2 separate regions of the Homo sapiens genome follow, and region 2 is linked to region 1. The links are contacts of gene promoters, found by promoter capture Hi-C in blood cells and fetal thymus (Javierre and others, 2016). All regions are on one chromosome and are shown on one strand. The core of a region is centred on a gene start or on the middle of the fragment in contact, and the rest is flanking DNA. Distances in the headings are between cores, read along the strand shown.

What was found. The method cuts DNA at HindIII sites, captures the fragments that hold promoters and counts their contacts. A CHiCAGO score of 5 or more calls a contact.
Region 2: a fragment that was not itself captured here is called in contact with the fragment with the promoter of MRO in region 1 in 1 of 17 cell types (neutrophils); the score reaches 5.5 in neutrophils.

What each region holds. Positions count from the first base shown.
Region 1 is chr18:50,816,843-50,822,378 of GRCh38, forward strand. MRO (maestro) reads right to left here and starts at 3,174. Exons shown (of 8, transcript NM_031939.6): 1 at 3,055-3,174; 2 at 2,739-2,860. RefSeq lists enhancers at 2,859-3,492, 3,329-3,378. The HindIII fragment of the contact is 17,012 bases long and covers 1-5,536 here.
Region 2 is chr18:51,014,202-51,020,498 of GRCh38, forward strand. All of the region lies in intron 1 of LOC107985152 (a long non-coding RNA gene), which reads right to left. It overlaps LOC124904303 (a long non-coding RNA gene), which reads right to left and starts at 4,085. Exons shown (of 2, transcript XR_007066372.1): 1 at 2,672-4,085; 2 at 2,176-2,577. The HindIII fragment of the contact is 8,731 bases long and covers 85-6,297 here.

The sequences.
Region 1 (5,536 bases), core at 1,924-4,423:
GCCTCATTATAAAACAGCTGGTATCTCTGTTCCAAGGCATAAGAAAATCATGCCTGAAGCTCCTTTCCATTGGTAAAGAAAACAAACCTGCTACCCTGTTCTTTCTGCTTGACTTCTCTTGCAAGATTAGCATAACAGCTAAGGGCTTTAGCCAGCCAAGGCAACTTCCCCAGGCTTCAGAAACCAAGCAGCCAGCATCGCCTTCATAGGCGTAAGTAGAACTCAAGGTCATGCTCCCATGCACGGCAAAGTAAATGAGAACTGAGTGGCTCCACCTGGAAGATTCGATCTGTGATTAGAGAAACTCACAGAGTTACATCTTGAGCTCACTACCTCTTCTAGCAAACCCTACCTCCCCATCACAAGAGAAAAACTGTGATGTGGTTTAATCTTACAGGTTGTCAGGGATCATCTCAATCTTGGGTGCAGGAAAAGTAGAGCATTTCTCAGTGTTGGTTGCACCTTCTATATCAGAATTCCCCGGGGTACGTGTTACAAACTCCAAGCCAGAGGTGGGTGCAGTGGCTCACACCTGTAATCCCAGCACTTTGGGAGGCTGAGCATCCCTTGAGCCCAGGAGTCTGAGGCTGCCGTAAGCCATGATTGCGCCACTGCACTCCAGCTGGGTTGACAGAGCAAGATCCTGTCTCTAAAAAATAAAAATAAATAATAATAATAACAATAAACTCCAGGCCTGCCCCAGAATTATTGGATCTGAATCTCAGGGAGTGTCGGGCCTGAGCATTGCACTTTTTGTATGTGGTGCCTGGTGATGCTACACGCCTGTTGGTATAGAAGAACCTCTATCCTGGAAATTAAATAAAGCTAATCCGAGCCCATGCAGTAGCAGAAACCATGGAAGTCAGGGAGGGAGCTGGGGCCGAGGGATGAGAAAGAGAAAGAGGTCAGTGTCTTTGCAGAGAACAAGAGATTGATACCATATGTTTGTGAAGCACTTTGAATTTCACTTTAAAAATAAAATTAAAATCACAGCAGCTGTTTGTCTATGATTTATGCAACTTTTCTAGGATGCTATTCTTCAGTTAAAAGTTTCATTAAAAAATAAAACAAATTAGGAGTTAAATCAAGGTCACAAGGCCCCTCGCTGGAGCCTTGTGTTTCTTGTACTTGCAGCTTCTTAAAGAACTCCCACCCCCCGCCCCATGCCCTCCTTCCTGCCTGCAGTGCCTCCCTCCTTTCTAAAACATGAAGTCCTTTACACCCAATCCAACAAAAACAAAAGGATCATTCTCATCTGTTGCAACACAGGATCTCAGAGAGGATCGTTTTAAACACACTGTGAATGAACGTAGTATACAGATTCCAAGATTTCTTAGGATGTTCTAACTCCTTCTCCAAGCCCTCTCACCCGTAAGACAGGCATTCTTTCCTAGGAGAATTACATTTTCTGGTGGGTTTCTATGGTCACCACATATGCCTAGCCTTGTATGACCAAGACCAGGAGGTCACCTGGCCATTTGGAAGCCAAAGACACAGCTCTGCTTATAGTTTTACTCATCTCTGCACACGTTCTTCAACGAATTCTTCTTCCTCTGGAACATACCCCTGAGTGAGCTATGTGCAGACCCCTTGGTTTTCACGAACCCCAAGACCCCGGCTGGGGCTTGTGTTCATTGCCAGGTTGTGCTCTACCTGATCTTACTGAAGATACATGGATTTGGGGTAACTTAGAAGACTGTTTTATGCTTTACACTGACTCCCATCTGCTTTTGCAAACTTGAATGATTCTGACTCAAAATATTAGATTTTTGGTCAATAATCCTTTTATTTATTGAAGCCAAAAGGTATATTATGAAGGCCAAAATTATAAAACACTTTGATTTTATCTCATCTGTAAAATGAGCAGAAGAAACTGTTAGATTGCTTAAAAATCCTTCCAACACTGAACTTATAAATGACAATAGTAGGCTGCGTGTGGTGGCTCATGCCTATAAATCCCAGCATTTTGGGAGGCTGAGGCAGGCAGATTGCTTGAGGTCAGGAGATCAAGACCAGCCTGAGCAACATGGTGAAACCCCGCCTCTACTAAAAATACAAAAATTAGCCAGACATGGTGGTGCACACCTGTAGTCCCAGCTACTCAGGAGGCTGAGGCAGAAGAATCACTTGAACCCAGGAGACAGAGGTTGCAGTGAGCCGAGATCGGGCCACCGCACCCCAGCTTGGGCAACACAACAAGACCCTGTCTCAAAAAAATGAAAAAAAAAATTAATATTAAAAAAATCGTCTTCATTTTAGAAAAGAAGAAACTGGGCTTAAAGTAATGTTGAACAATTAACTCAAAGTCAAATACTGGCAGAGCAGATTTTAGGACTCTGAAAGATATCCTTTCAGTCACTGTGCTATAAGCCTAGGTTCAGCTCCCAGGCAATGTCCTGTGAGCTGAACGAGGGAAGACAGACCGCATAGACATTTCAGTTTAAAGTGTCAATATCTTCCCTGAGTCCCTGCCATTCTATTATATTGCTGACAATAGAATGATCTATAACCCAACTATTGATCGATTAACATAGTTTGTGAAAAGCAAACAAAATCAGCTTCCTGGTCAACATTGCCCACTTCAGTTTTACAAAGAGAACATTACCAAATCCTACCCCCTAGAGGTCGAGCTCCCATACTGGTGACCAGAGTGACATTCCAGAAAGGTTTTGGGAACCCAAGTGCAGCCAGGACGCCTCCCGCTGCATCTGGCTGCCCCGGCCAACAGTGTCCCTTACCTGCGGCTCCTGCAGGCGGCTGCCACGTGATGAACCGGAGCCCGTTCCTGACTCGGGAGGGCTGCTTTCCCGGGTAGTAGCCAAATGTGATGACTCGGCTAAATTTTCCCAGCCCTGAATTCCTAACATACAAGAAGGGAAATTAGGAGGTGACGCAGGGTCTGTCCAGGATAACGGGTCGGCACAGAGTGTTGGAAAGTGAGAATCAAATAAGAGGGGAAAGTCAAAGTTTATAGAGTATTTGGGCAGGGGAGGGAATTGTTCTGGAATGAAACCGACAAGAATATTGTAGGGTGGCACAAGCATGACTTGCTACCTTTGCTTCCCCACGCCATGCTGAGGTGTTTTTCCTTCTCCTTGCTGTGATTTCCCCTCCTTCTTCCCTCATGCCAGCCTGGTCGACACTTTCTGCAGAAATTCTGCAGATGGCAATTCTGGGGACCTTTCCTCTGCACCAAACAAAACCTCCCTGCCAAGGCCCGTTCCCCATGCGGCCGCGAGATGGCGGCATGACTCAATGGACGGGTTCCAGGCGACCCCTGCACAAAGCCGCCGCCGTGGCTGCCTCCTTCCTTACATAATCCTGTTAGAGCGCATTTAATCTAAGGATGGGACACTGTGTTCCATGCCAAGCAGCCTCATCGTGGCTGATTGTTGCACCAACAACAAGAGCTTTAACCGTTGACGTCCCTTCCTGCTCAAGAAACACCGTATGTCCCGAAAGGAGCGATTTAAGCTCTCAAAATGATTTATTGGTAAAAAGCAAAGCAAAATTAAAACCGGGGAATTACAGCACCTGCAGAATTTAGGAGCCTCTCTCTCTCATCAGCCCTCCTTCCCTGACTCTCCAAACACGTGCATAAATCTATTTAACAATAATTAGTTATCGTCTCGCTCTGCATTGGGTCATAAAGGGAGAAAATATGTCCTGAAAGGAAAAAAGAACAGTTATATTTTCAAAGACAGAGGCACTTATTGTTATGCTAATAGATAACATTCAATTAAAACTTCTGTGTGCCAAATGTTGTGATAAATATTACATAGACTATCTCATTCAATTGTTACATCAAACCAAAGGTTAATACTCCTACTATAGTCTCCATTTTAAGGCTGGAGAAACTGAGGCACAGGGAGATTACCTTGACAAAGGTCATGCAGTTAATTTGTGGCAGTTAAAATTCAGCTACAGGCAGGCTAATGTAAGAGCTTGGACTCAGCCATGATGCTATGCACTGGACTGGTCTAGAAAACCCAGGAGATAAACAGAAAAATATAAACCAGAGAACTATGTCAGAGTGGAAGATGAAAGAAAAAGGCAGAAAGAAAATCGATGCTGCTGAGAAAATAAGAAGAATGAGGCTAAAACACCACCCTCTTCAGATTAAGTTACAAGGGAACCACTGTGACATTTGAGGACACAATTTCAATAGAGTGACAGAGAAAGGAAGCTAGACTGCAAAACTAAGGGGCTATGAGGAAAGAGGAAATTGAGATGTCTTGCTGCAAAAGGAAAGCAATAAATAGACTAGAAGAGACAGCAAGGTCAGGCAAAAGCATTTTGGTTTTCTTGTGTGCTTTTTGAAATGGAATAAAGCCTGGCCTTGTTTGAAAGTGGTTGCAAGGGAGCCCTAATATGTGGCTGGTGCCAAGTAGTGGTAATAGGAAGAGGTGGAGGGGGCATCAAGGGCACGAGGGAAAGGGTTAGCTCTGGAGGAGGAAGAAAGATGGCTGCCTCTGCCTGCAACTGGGAGGCAGCCACAGAGATGAAGATACATCAACACAAAACTGAGAGGAATGGGCGAGTTCAATTCTTCCAAATTAGCTTTAATCTTTTCAGTAAAACCAGAGTTAGGTTATCTGCCAAGAGCGAGAATGAGGTTTATACGGCCATAATCTATATACTGAACTAATCCATGTAGTGCTTAGAATGACCAAAAAGGTAATAAGATTATCCGAAGAACAGAGGAGACTGGAGAAAGGAAGCCCAAAGTATGATTGTAAAGATTCTCTGCAAAATCTCCTTTGTGAATCAGAACTGAAATTTACATCCCCTCCTCCCCATGAACAGAAACACAACAAACTATTAATAACCCCTTGTGTCTAAAGTTTCTTTGTATTCATGTTTTAAGATATTTGACAGAGAAATAGTATCTTCTCTACTGTTAAATAGGAGAACTAATATGCAGATAAATTTTCCTGTTTGACTTAAAACTACAAAGAACATCAGGGCCAGAACTGGAATTGATATCCAGGAGCCTTTCTGATACTTGCACTGTGCTGACCTCAGCTCTACTAAACACTTCTCATAAACGGCCTGGATGCAGCTAACTGCCCCTAGAGAATCCCAGACACAGCACAAACTTGGGAAGCATCAAAATCAACGCATGATGCCCACAAGAGTCTAAGATTCTCCTTATGTGGCCCTGGGTCACAGTACAGTTCTTTGGAAATTAGAGGGCAAGTTTGATAATTTGATTGCAACATATTTGCATATCTATAACATGATGTCCTTAAAAGAACACACCATAATTATTTAATGTAAGGATTTAATGACTCTATTTTCATTCTCAATTAACATTTCCTTATTGCCAGAAGTACACTGGGGCTGGCACAACTGGAAAAAGCAAAGAGGGTAATTATTTAGCCTGCATTACTGATGAAAAGGGCAACAGGCAAAGCTAAAGCAATCCACAATTCACCTTGTATGTGAATTACATGTGTATTACAATGTGTAATCAGGAAATTTATCTTTTTTAGTTTATTTTATTTTATTTTTGAGACAGGGTCTCACTCTGTCA
Region 2 (6,297 bases), core at 3,200-5,699, 200 kb after region 1:
ATGAAAAGCAGCCCCCAAATCATTTCTTTTCTAACAAAGAGCAGCCTGTAAAATCGAGCTGCAGGCATAGACAAGCAAGCTGGAAGCTTGCATGGGTGAATGCTGGCAGTTGTGCCAATAGGAAAAGGCTACCTGGGACTAGGCATGATTAAAATGGTAGCTCCATATTTCCTTCTCTTTGCTAGCCATGTGTACAGTAAGAAGCAGACAAGATGGCACTGGCCAAGTGGACAGCCCATTTGCATAATAAGATTGGGGTGGGGCAACCAGCCGTCTCCTTGTGCCATGTGAACATCACACCTGGTCGAACCAATCTGTGGGGCCTTCATAAATCAGACACCACCTCTTCAAGCCTGCCTATAAAATCTGCTGCAGTCTGCTGCAGGCCAGCTTTTCCCCTTCAGACAATGCCTCTCTCTCTCACAAAAGAGAGCTGCTCTCCTTTCTCTTTGTTTTGGCTATTAAACCTCTGCTTCCAAATTCACTCCTTGTGTGTCCGTGTCCTTAATCTTCTCAGCACGAGACAATGAACCCCAGGTGTTTACCCCAGACAGTGATGCTGCTTCAGCACCACAGGAATGGTTAGTTAACACCACAAGTGCAACATAAATATTCCAAACTATAAATATTATATAAGCATAACTAATCACTTAACTGCATATAATATATAGATGCCCCAATTGGGTGGCCCAACCACCATGTTTTTGAATGTGTCAGTAACTCATTTCATTTTTATTGTTGAGTAGTGTTTCATTGCTATGGTTTTGAATGTCTCCCCAAAACTCATGTTGAAATTTAATTGTCATTGTGATGGCATTAAGAGGTAATGTTATGTTGAAGCACAAAGGCCATCACCAGATGCTGCTGCTATACTCTTAGTCTCCCCAGCATCCAGAACCGTGAACCAAATAAATTTCTATTGTTTATAAAGTGCCCAGTCTCAGGTATTCCGCTATAGCAACGCAGAATGGACTAAAACATCCACTGAATGAATTTACCACAATCTGTTCATCCATTCACCTATGAATGGACATTTGGATTGTTTCCAGTTTTTTCCGGGCCAGGTGTGGTGGCTCACACCTGTAATCCCAGCACTGTGGGAGGCTGAGGCAGGTGGATCACTTGAGGTCAGGAGTTTGAGACCAGCCTGGACAACATGGTGAAACCCCATCTCTACTAAAAATACAAAAAATTAGCTGGATGTGCTCACTTGAACCCAGGAGGCAGAGGCTGCAATAAGCCAAGATCGTGCCACTGTACTCCAGCCTGGGTGATAGAGCCTCTGTCTCACCAAAAAAAAAAAAAAAAAGAATATTTATGGAGCCTCTTCCACATGTATTTTCTCTCCCATCTCACCTCCTACTTCACTCCTCTCTTATCCTGCCCTAACTGTGTTGACCTTACTTCTGTCATGTGAATACACTGAGCTTAGTTCTGCTTCAGGATCTTAACATCAGCTCTCTCCAGATTTTTGCATAGCTCTCTCCATCATTCAGGTCCCTACTCAAATGTCACCCTCTCAGAGAACCTCTCCTGATTGCCCTATCTAAAATAGTACTCCACCTCCTCCCCCAATCTAATTCTCTATGGTCTTTTTTTTTTTTAATAAAATTGCAATTATCACTTTAATATTATATTATCTGTTTGGCCACATGTTAATCATATGTATCACCCACTAGAATGTAAGTTTGTTTTTTTTTCATTTCTAACTTTTAAGTTCCTGGGTACATGCGCAGCATGTGGAGGTTTGTTACATAGGTAAACATGTGCCATGGTGATTTGCTGCACAGATCATCCCGTCACCCAGGTATTAAGCCCAGCATCCATTAGCTGTTCTTCCTGATCCTCTCCCTCCTCTCATCCCGTCTCATCTGACAGGCCCCAGTGCGTGTGGTTCCATGTATCCATGTGTTCTCATCATTTATCTCCCACTTATAAGTGAGAACATGCAGTATTTAATTTTCTGTTCCTGCATCTGTTTGCTAAGGATAATGGCCTCCAGTTCCATCCACGTCCCTGCAAAGGACATTATCTTGTTCATTCTTATGACAGCATAGAATTCCATGGTGTATATATACCACATTTTCTTTATCCAGTCTATTACTGATGGGCATTTAGGTTGATTCCATGTCTTTGCTATTGTGAATAATGCACCAACAAACATATGCATGTATGTGTCTTTATAAAGAATGTATTTAATAAGTTCGGGCACAGTGGCTCACGCCTGTAATCCCAGCACTTTGGGAGGCCAAGGTGGGTGGATCACAAGGTCAGGAGATTGAGACCATCCTGGCCAACATGGTGAAACCCTGTCTCTACTAAAAATACAAAAATTAGCTGGGCGTTGTGGCACGTGCCTGTAATCCCAGCTACTTGGGAGGCTGAGGCAGGAGAATCGCTTGAACCAGGGAGTCAGAGGTTGCAGTGAGCTGAGATCGCGCCACTGCAGTCCACCCTTGTGACAGAGCAAGACTTTGTCTCAAAAAAAAAAAAAAAAAAAAAAAAAAGAATGTATTTAATAAGTTCTTTAAGGACCAGGAAATTTGTCTCACGCTGTATCTCCATCTAGAGCAGTGCCTGGCAAAGAGTAGAAATTCAATAAATTTTTGTTGGATGAGAATTTTCATTTAAATCTTAGGAAAAGAAAAATTTGAACAAGTGTTATACCTACTTTTATAGCCGAAGCAACTGAAGGTGAGACAGGTTCAGTAACTTGCCAGGAGGGCACAGAGATAGAGCCAGGATTTGAATGCTTGTCCATTTGACTTCAAAGCTCATCCATTGTCTTAGCCTCTATCTACCGTCTCATAATGAAGTGGAATGTATACACACAAGACTACAAAATCAAGTGCCAGTGGAGTGCCTTGAGGTTGTTTGGATGAGATCAACGGAGGAGATGGAGTCATCAGTAGGAGGGGAGTTGGCCTCATGCATGAGATTTGTAAAGATGGAGGCAGGAGACAGGGCAAACCTTGGGCCTGGGTCTGCGATTGTCCACCGTGGCTTTGTCCTTGGCTGAAGAAGCCAGTTCCCATCTTCTCCTGGGAGAGCAGTGAGGATGGAGGGCCAGCTGTAGGGTCAGGACTGTGTAAGCCGCATTCCTGGGCCTTTGTTTCAAACCTACCAACAAAGAACACTCTCTGGGGAGCTTTTGTGGACTGTGGTTAGGCCTGCAGTCAGGACCCGCATTCTAACTAACCAGTGTAGCCTCTGGCAAGTGCAGAGCCACTTTGCAGCTCCCTGGCAATGGAGATGATCTGTGTACTGGGGAAGGCAGCTGGGCCCAGAGGGGCTTTTGAACCACAGCATTTTTCTTAAAGATGGGGGATGTTATTGTTGAACCAGGTAGGAGGTGACCTGGGAACCAGCCTCCCTGAAAAGGAGGAGGGAGGGAAACACCTATGCCCAGGGTTATGTGGTGCTATTTCCTTCCTGATTAAAGATGTAGATGCCTTGGTACCCGAGCCCTGGAGGAGGCTCCCTCAACCTGAGAAAGCACTGTGCTGCAGCTCATCCTGGGAGCCGGCTCCCCTGGGTGGTACAGCACAGAGGGAAGGAAGGGGGCCGCAGTTCAAGGGCAGCAGCTGGGAGAAGCATGTCAGAAGTGCCAGGGAAGCAAAAGTCGGCTAGGGAAAGGAAAGGGGAGGAAGGAAAAGCAGAGAGGCAGCAGCAGCTCTGGGAGAAAGGGACAGCAGACATTAGAGGGGCGAGTGTTCTGGGAGCCTCAGAGCAGTGATGGATTTTCCATCTTTCCTTGGAGGAGGGGCTGGGTCTTGGAATCCCCTCCCTTCTCTGCCCCTTACACACAGTTTGTCCTGAGGAGCAGACATGAGGTCTGTGCTCACCCAAGCGCTCACAGTCTCCTTCTCTCTTCAATACCCATCTGCTGGGCCTAATTCTTACCTCAAAAAGGTAACTCTTGATTATTCTTAAAAGTTTAAAAAAAAATAGTAACTGTGATTCTGGTCTAAGCTAAAATTATTTTTCCTCAAGGTTGTCTCCCAAGAAAAATGCTTAAAGAGGCCGGGCACGGTGGCTCATGCCTGTAATCCCAGCACTTTGGGAGGCCGAGGTGGGCGGATCACCTGAGGTCAGGAGTTCAAGACCAGCCTGGCCAACACGGTGAAACCCCATCTCTACTAAAAAATACAAAAATTAGCCAGGTGTGGTGGTGAGCACCTGTAATCCCAAGTACTCAAGAGGCTGAGGGAGGAGAATTGCTTGAACTTGGGAGGTGGAGGTTGCAATGAGCCGAGATCATGTCATTGCACTCCAGCCTGAGTGACAGAGTGAGACTCCCTCTCAAAAAAAAATAAATAAATAAATAAGAAAAATGCTTAAAGAATATGGAAATAATTTGGTGGTGTTTAGGTAGATTGTTTTCCTCCTCAGAGTTGAAAGTAACACAGATATTCATTAACTTTTATCACTGAAATGACACCATAGCACTGTAGCCCAGGCTGGAGTGCAATGGTGCAATCTCAGCTCAGTGCAACCTCCACCTCCCTGGCTCGAGCGCTTCTCCTGCCTCCACCTTCTGAGTAGCTGGGATTACAGGCACATACCACCATGCCTGGCTAATTTTTGTATTTTAGCAGAGACGAGGTTTTGCCATGTTGGCCAGGCCAGTCTCAAACTCTTGACCTCAAATGGTTTGCCTCGGCCTCCCAAAGTACTGGGATTACAGGCGTGAGCCACCGTGCCTGGCAGGTTTGTTTTGGATGAACTTGTCATTTCCAGCACTCCCTGCTTGTGATGTTCTCTCTTGTACCTGTGACACTGAGGAAAACCGTTAGATGCCAAGTTCACCTGAGGGACTAAAATCTGTCTAGATGTAAGTCTGATCTGGCGTCTACTGGGGGAAGGGAAAGACTGGATAAACTGTGTTTCAGTTCATATCCATTGCCATTCAATTCTGCATTCTAAGATATGGCAACCAGTAGGCTCACTCTACATGTTTATTCAACGGAAACGATGTCCGAAAATTTAACTTTCATCACAAAGCATTTTAGGTGGGTAGAATCATGACTGTGAACTGTCTCCTAAATAATTTAGTGTTCCATTATTCCCCTCCCCAGTACATTTTAGATTTAGGTCCTACACAGTTCTAGACCCTGGATTCTAGGGCTTTGCCTCTGGAACCAGCGGTATTGGCCTCACTTGAGAGCTTATTAGAAATGAAGAGTCTCCAGCCCACCCTCAAATCCAAGGAATCAGGATTTACTTTTTAACATGCTCCCCAAGTGATCTGTGTGCATGTTAAAGTAGGAGAAATGCTGCTCTGAGGCATCTGATCAGCAGGCCCTCCCAGGCCCTGGCTTCAGGGTAGAGCTATTTGGGTTGCAGATAGCACCATGCCACACTCTGTGGGCAGAGAGTTCAAATTCCAGCTCTGCTGTGAACCTCATCACAGGGACAAGTGACCTAAAATTAAAAAAAAAAAAAATCAAACTCACAGAAAAGTCGCAAGAATAGTACAAAGGGCCGGGCATGGTGGCTCATGCCTGTAATCCCAACACTTTGGGAGGCCGAGATGGGTGGATCACGAGGTCAGGAGTTCAAGACCAGCCTGGCCAACATGGTGAAACCCTGTCTCTACTCAAAATAAAAAAAATTAGCTGGGCGTGGCGGCACACACCTGTAATCCCAGCTACTTGGGAGACTGAGGCAGGACAATGGCTTGAACCCGGGAGGCGGAGGTTGTGGTGAGCCGAGATCGTGCCACTGCACTCCAGCCTGGGTGACAGACCGAGACTCCATCTCAAAAAAAAAAAAAAAAAAAAGAATAGTACAAAGAACTTCTGTAAATACTTTACCTAGACTCACCAACTATTAACATTTTGCAGTGTATACTTTATCATTTTTTTCGCTCTACCTATGTATGATGATTATTCCTGAATTCTTGGAGAGTTAATTGCATATACTGGCATGTCTTTACCCTCAATACTTCAGTGTGTAGCTCTGAAAACAAGGACATTTTCCTACATAACGACAACACCAGGGCTAGAACTAGATGGAGGCTAACAAGGCCTGAGCGTGAGTGGCCCTTCAAGAGGGCTTCCTTCAACTTTGTACCCTAGGAGCCTCTGTTGTCTCGCCCTAGTTCTGGCCTGCATGCTACAGTTATCAAAATCAGGAAACCTTACTATTATCTAATCTATAGTCTATTATATCTAATCTATAATCTATTATATACCTATAGTCTAATCTATAAGCTATTTTCCAATCATGTCTATTGTCCCAATAAGGTCCTTCGTAGCAAAAATTTTCCCCAGATTCAATTCAGGATCATGTATG